Linked DNA regions of Homo sapiens: region 1 is linked to region 2. The links are contacts of gene promoters, found by promoter capture Hi-C in blood cells and fetal thymus (Javierre and others, 2016). All regions are on one chromosome and are shown on one strand. The core of a region is centred on a gene start or on the middle of the fragment in contact, and the rest is flanking DNA. Distances in the headings are between cores, read along the strand shown. Region 1 has its middle 11 kb from the start of NFKB2. Region 2 holds the start of NOLC1 (nucleolar and coiled-body phosphoprotein 1).

Evidence for each region. The method cuts DNA at HindIII sites, captures the fragments that hold promoters and counts their contacts. A CHiCAGO score of 5 or more calls a contact.
Region 1: a contact is called between a fragment that was not itself captured here and the fragment with the promoter of NOLC1 in region 2, in 7 of 17 cell types (M1 macrophages, megakaryocytes, endothelial precursors and 4 more). The highest score is 9.9, in M1 macrophages.

Annotation. Positions count from the first base shown.
Region 1 is chr10:102,383,237-102,386,831 of GRCh38, reverse strand. No RefSeq gene overlaps it. Among named protein-coding and RNA genes, the nearest start is that of NFKB2, 11 kb to the left of the region's middle. The HindIII fragment of the contact is 794 bases long and covers 1,896-2,689 here.
Region 2 is chr10:102,151,075-102,154,431 of GRCh38, reverse strand. NOLC1 (nucleolar and coiled-body phosphoprotein 1) reads right to left here and starts at 2,043. Exons shown (of 13, transcript NM_004741.5): 1 at 1,902-2,043. The coding sequence starts at 2,021. RefSeq lists enhancers at 1,933-1,982, 2,153-2,452, 1,358-2,557. The HindIII fragment of the contact is 8,659 bases long and covers 1-3,357 here.

The sequences.
Region 1 (3,595 bases), core at 1,043-3,542, 230 kb before region 2:
CAAAAATTACTTGGACGTGGTAGCACGCACCTGTAATCCCAGCTACTCAGGAGACTGAGGCAGGAGAATTGCTTGAACCCGGGTGGTGGAGGTTGCAGTGAGCCGATATCGCGCCACTGCACTCCAGCCTGGGTGACAGAGCAAGACTCTGTCTAAAAACAAACAAACAAATAAACAAAAACATTAGTCAGTTGTGGTGGTGCACACCTGTAATCCCAGCTTCTTGGGAGGCTGAAGCACAAGAATTGCTTGAACCCAGGAGGCGGAGGTTGCAGTGAGCCAAGATTGCACCACTGCACTCTAGCCTGAGTGACACAGTGAGACTCTGTCTCAGAAAAAAACAAAAAACAAAAAACAAAAAATCCCCCTCCCCACATTAAATAAAAATAAAATGTTTGAGCAAGGCACTCAGTACTGACACATATAGGCGCTCTAGCGATGCCAGTGCTCTATGTTAGGGTCTTAGGTCATGGAACCATCTCTACCTTTCCTCCTGACTTTATCTGCTATCCTGGATTTCTGGTGGGAGATGTCATTAAGACCAGCATTTCCCTCCAGACTATGTTATTACTTTTCCCCAAGGTTTGGTTACTTCCACATCACCAAGCCATTCTTCTTTGTTGGTCAGGATTAAGGCTTACTTATTAGTTCCTCTTGCAGCTTCCTTTGCTTTCTGAGACAAGATTGTCCATAATACAAATCACGCATATCAGCTGGTCTTTTGTTTTTTAAATATATTTTTGAAATATTTTTAAAAATAGAGATGGGGGTCTCACTATGTTGCCCAGGCTGATCTCAAACTCCTGGCCTCAAGTGATCCTCCCACCTCAGCCTCCCAAAGTACTGGGATTACAGATGTGAGCCACAGCACCGGGCCTCAGCTACTTTTTAATAACAGAATGCAACTTCCAGCAAATGTTTTTCTTTGCTTCCCAGCAGGGAGACGGCCAGTTTGCAATTGCTCCAGCTTTTTTTTTTTTTTTTTGAGACAGAGTCTTGCTCTGTTGCCAGGCTGGAGTACAGCGGCACCATCATAGCTCACTGCAGCCTCAACCTCCCAGGCTCAAGCACTCCTCCTGCCTCAGCTTCCCAAGTAGCTAGGCCACAGATACATGGTCTTGAACTCCTGGGCAAGCGATCCTCCTGCCTCAGTCTCCCAAAGTGCTGGGATTACAGGCGTGAGCCACCGCACCCCACCCCACTCCTGTTCCCACTTCTTTCCTAATTTTTGAGATTGGTTTTATAAGGAACATTAGAGCTGTCCTATTTCTTTGTTCATAGGATGGCCTTCAGACTTATTTGCAGCAGTTAACACTATTTCTCCCATAGGGAAACACATGGAAGCTTCTAAAGGCAGAGCTTGTGGGGCTCAGATGGGAGAACAGAGACACCACAGTTGAAGCCAAATGCCCCAGTATCTAGCTGGCTGTAGATCCAGGCTTTTCTGCACACACATAGAGCTTTCTGCCCCTCCTAATTTTCCCAGGGGCAGGGTTGGGCAAGACTTCTGGTTAGTATGCAAACCAGGCATGGCCTGGACTTCAGGAAGAAGGAAGGGAAGAGGGAGAAATTAGCCTAAGAGCTTCCGGTTTCATATCAGTATTTTTCCACTTCAGGTTGTTCCCACTCTGAGGTGCCTTTTTCTACACTGAGGGAGGCGTTGCAGAGGTCCAAATGCCCAGCCATGTGCATGTGCTGAGCAAAGGGAAGCCTGGTGCTGGAGAATCATACTGCCAGCTGGGCCCCAGTGCAGGGGGTGAGTGCCCCTAACTCTCTGTGATGGAGGCCAGCTGGAAGTACAACAGGGCCACACTGTTCTCTGTGCCCCAGGGAAGGGAAGGCACCATTGCGGAGGTGGAAACCAAGATGATGTGGATGCTTCACTTGGGAAAGCTTAATACCCAGCATTTTGTATCCCACCATGAGAGGGGAAAACACCTTCAAAGTGTTTCTATTTTCTCACTCAAAAACAATCAACACAGAAGACTTCTGTGACCAAATGTGTGTGTGTGGGAAAACCCCCACACACCAGGCAAGCAATCAGCTCTATAGTAGACACCAGCTGGGTGGCCTCCAATTCAATTCTGACACTATCTAATTGGAAATAGTGCCAGGTCCCATAGGTTGAGGGCTCATTCCCCAGGACTGTACTCTACTTCTTTACAAAAATGCTTTTTTTTTTTTTTTAAATAGAGACAGGGTCTCGCTATGTTGCCCAGGTTGGTCTTGAACTCTTGGCCTCAAGGGATCCTTCTGCCTCGCCTCTGAAAGTGCTGGGATTACAGGTGTGTGCCATGGTGCCCGGTCATTGCCTCCACTTCTGATGCCAATTGTTAAGTTTCAGGTGGTTTTTCCTGTATTTCTTACTGACCAGCTATAAATTGGGCTTCGCATGACCCCCTTCTTGGGTTTGGGTTCAACTAGTTTGCTAGAGTAGCTCACAGAACTCAAGGAAACACACTTACCAGTTTACTACAGGGAATATTATAAAGGATACAAATAACCAGCCATGAAGACATACATAGGGTGAGGTCTGAAAGGGTCCAGAGCCCGGGAGTGATGTCCCCGTGGAGTTGTGGTGCGCCACCCTCTGGGCACAAGGATGCACTCGTTTGGCTTCCTGTAAGCCTACATGTTCAGCTCTCTGGAAGCTCACCAAACCCTGCCCTTTTGGGTTCTTAGAGAAGCTTCCTTACATAGGCACGGTTGATTAAACCATTGGACAGTGGTGATCAACTTAACCTTCAGTCCCTCTTCCCTCCCTGGAGGTTGGGGGCTGAGCCTGAAAGTCCCAACCCTTTAATTCTGCTTTGGTGACCAGCCCCCATCCAGCAGCTACATAGGGGCTGCCAGCTATCAGTCAATCATATATTAAAGGACATCACTTTGGAGATTCTAAGGATTTTAAGAGTTATGCCAGGAAACGGGGTGAAGACCAAATATCTATTTCACAGTATCACACACCCATAGCACCTCCACCCTGCAGGGGCCACACAGCCTGCCCCATACACACTTCCCACCTGTCTTACCCTGATGCCAAGGGAAAGGAGAAGAGGGGTCCTCTAATCATGCTGCAGTGAGTGAGGTTTGAGGTTTGTGGGGCTGGGAAAAGTTACCCCTTTTCAGTTTGGGGTCAAAATGAATGCCCTGGGCTCCAAACCCATGACTGCAGCTGTGGGCAAGATACCCTTCCCAGGGCTGGGTGCAGTGGCTCATGCCTGTAATCTCAGCACTTTGGGAGGCCTAGGCAGGAAGATCATTTTAGCCCAGGAGTTCCAGACCAGTCTGGGCAACATAGTGAGACCCTGTCTTTATAAAAATTACACAAAAAATTAGCCAAGTGTGGTGGTGCACACCTTAGTCTCAGATACTTGGGAGGCTGATGTGAGAGGACTGCTTGAACCCAAGAGTTTGAGGCTGCAGTGAGCTATGATTGTGCCACTGCACTCCAGGCTGGGTGACAGAGGGGGGCTCCAGTGCAGTGGCACAATCATAGCTCACTGCAGCCTCGAACTCTTGGGCTCCTCTGAAACCCCAACAGCTGTTTTGGTCTCTTGGATGGTGAGACACATCTGAGAGAAGACTTCTGAATAAC
Region 2 (3,357 bases), core at 794-3,293:
TACTACACATCTCATTAAGTTATTGAGAGGATAAGACATAATGCATGTTGGCCGGGTGCGGTGGCTCACACCTGTAATCCCAGCACTTTGGGAAGCCGAGGCAGTAGATTCTTGAGGTCAGGAGTTCAAGAGCAGCCTGGCCAACATGGTGAAACCCCGTCTCTACTAAAAATACAAAAAAAAAAAAAAAAAATTAGCCAGGCATGGTGGGGCACACCTGTAGTCCCAGCTACTTGGGAAGCTGAGGCAGGAGAATCACTTTAGCCTGAGAGGCAGAGGTTGCAGTGAGCTGAGATCGTGCCACTGCACTCCAGCCTGGGCGACAGAGCCAGACTCCGCCTCAAAAAAAAAAAAAAAAAAAATTAAATGCATGTGAAGGGCGTAGCATCTGACCCTTAGTTAGCTCTTCACAAAGATTAGCTTTTCTCACATAAAACCATTTCAGAATCCTAATCCTGAGGCCGGGCACGGTGGCTCGCGCCTGTAATCCCAGCACTTTGAGAGGCTGAGGCAAGTGGATTTCTTGAGGTCAGGAGTTCAAGACCAGCCTGGCCAACATGGTGAAACCTCATCTCTACTAAAAATACAAAAATTAGCCGGGCGTGGTGGTACGCGCCTGTAATCCCAGCTACTGGGGAGGCTGAGGCAGGATAATCACTTGAACTTGGGAGGCGGAGGTTACAATGAGCCGAGATCGCACCATTGCACTCCAGCCTGGGCAACAGAGACTCCGTCTCAAAAAAAAAAAAAAAAAAAAAAGAATCCTAATTCTGAAATGTCCAATTCCATCCAGTCCACTGTGAAAGCACTCTCCGCAGTCTCCTTAACAGTCAACTCTAAACAGTTTCATTAAGAAAGCAGTTAGATCACATGGCAGCCTGTCCCAGCTTAAGGAAGTTTTGAGGCTGATCTGATTCTTTGCTTTCGCAGCCTGATTCTGCTAAAAGTGCAAGCCATCCTTCCTAGTCATGCTATCATCCCTGCTGAAGACCCCCCCTCTCTCCTCTCTCAAAGTGTCTTCCCATGCAGGAATGTCCGTTGATGTAGATTACAAACCTTTCACATTCCTGGTTCTCTTACTCTTACATGTGTTTGGAGCATCCTAAATTGCCATAACTATGGTACAGCTTTCACTTTTACAAGATTCCTCTGTACCAGCACTGAGATTGCTACTCTTACACATCATCTTACTGAAACTCACAAAAATCCTATAAAGTGGATGATGACATCCCTGTAGAAAGACTCAGAAAGGTTAAATAAACTGCCCGGGTCACGTATCTAAAAAGTGGCAGAGCCTGGTCCCAAACCTAGGTTTGTTTGATTCAATTAGCCAAAGCTCCAAGCCCACTACTATGCCTACTTGGTAGGGCTGTTGATGACTCTCAATTCTCAGTGTAACTCAAAACAAAACTCTGCTTCTACTTTCATTCATTTTCTTCTTTACAAACGAAAATCCCAGACTTCATTCTAAAGAAATTTCACTTGCTTTTGAATCCCAGTAAATGTGACTGAGGCTAAGGTCAAATCACGGTTTGCCTCACCCAACGAAAAGCCCCCCAGAAGATGCCGAAGAACCAACGTCCTCAGTGGAACAAGACTCTACCTCCCCGCTGCACTCTGCCAGCCATGTGGCTTGGGGCCACGAGGCTCCCACGCTGCCGCCGCTGCACAGGTCACAAGAAAAAAGCAACAAGACTCAGCGATATCTACTCAGACATGGAGGAAGGTAAGCGACCGAGGCCGCAGGCTTTCTCTGGTCACTGCCGAGGGGTCGGCGTAAAGGCCTTGCAGACACTGGACTGGCGGACCCCCAGACTTCCCCACCTGGAAACCTAAGCACGTCAGGGCCTGAAGCCTTGTGGTCATCTCAGCCCGGTCCCCGCCCCAAGCCCGGAACTCACAGCTCCTGTCGCTTTGGCGAACTTATTGGCCACCTCTGAGAGTTGGTTATCGCGCAGGAAGCCGAGCACGAGGGGATACAGGTCGCTGGGAACCACGCGGCGAATGCCGGCGTCCGCCATCCTCCAGGCAATACGCGTCACTACCGTTGTCGACGCAGCACGACTCAGGAACCCAACAGGGGCAGTGGGCGGGCCTGTGTTACGTCATTGCGCCGCGCGGGCGCATAACGGAAAGGGTGGGCTCCACAGGGCAGTCCCACCTTCACCTCAGAGGTAGGGTAGACGGGAAATCTATAAACTCTTTCCGGTCCCACGCGTATCGCCATCTTGGTTAAGGGCGGAGCCCACCGGCCGCCAGCTTGTGGAGGCGGAGCTCTGACGTCAGGGATCACGCCCTCGGCGTGGCGGGAAAACTCGGGACTTCCCGCGCAGTCTTTCTGGGGGAGGTACCTTTTCTCAGAGCAGCGGTTTCCCGCGCCCCTGCTGGGACTCGGATTCCAGAGTAATGAGTGGACAAGCGGGCTCGAACAGTTGTTCTACAAGATCTCCCAACCGCCCCCATGGCGTACTGGCACGGCCAATGGATTCTCGCCCTTCATCTTCACTGCCTCCAATACCCAGGGAGGCCCTTTCTGATACCATCCCAGCCTCCAGACTCCTGCCTCTGCTGCAGAAGATCCTTCGGGTTATCCGTCGTGAGGGTGGGAGGTGTTGATTTCCCAAGCTGCCCCTCCCATCTCCCTTATATTCCGCCTTAGGTCAGCTCCATGAAGAGGAAAGGTGTCATGCACCAAACCTGAATCACACACAGCAACAATCTATTCAAGCTGAAGAGATTGTTGAAAATAACCCTTCTTCCTCCGGGATCAGAGTTCACACTCTGCCTTTGTCATGAGTAACTCCAGTATCAATGCCTTTGTCATGAGTAACTCCAGTATCAATGCTCAGACCTACCAAGTTAATTCCAAGTTCTGCCACATTCCAGATATTAGCAGTTAGCAATCCCTTCAATCCTACCCACTACCCCTTGGCTACCTCCCACTAATGCCGCTCAGGAAAGATAAGGATCCTCATGGGAACACACCCCCCTCTCCTATATAAAATTGGCCAGGCATAGTGGCTCACAACTGTTATCTCAACACTTTGGAAGGCCTAGGTGGGAGGATCCCTTGAGCCCAGGAGTTAAGAGGCCAGCCTGGACAACACAGTGAAACCCCCCTATCTCTACAAAAAATTTTTAAAATTAGCCAGGTGTAGTGGCATGCACCTGTGGTCCCAGCTACTTGGGAGGCTGGGGCAGGAGGATCAACTGAGCCAGGGAGGTCAAAGCTGCAATGAGCTATGATCCTGCCACTGCAATCCAGCCTGGGCCACAGAGTGAGATCCTATCTCAAAAATCAAAAACAAAGCTGGGCACGGTGGTTCATGCCTGTAATCTCAGCACTTTGGGAGGCTA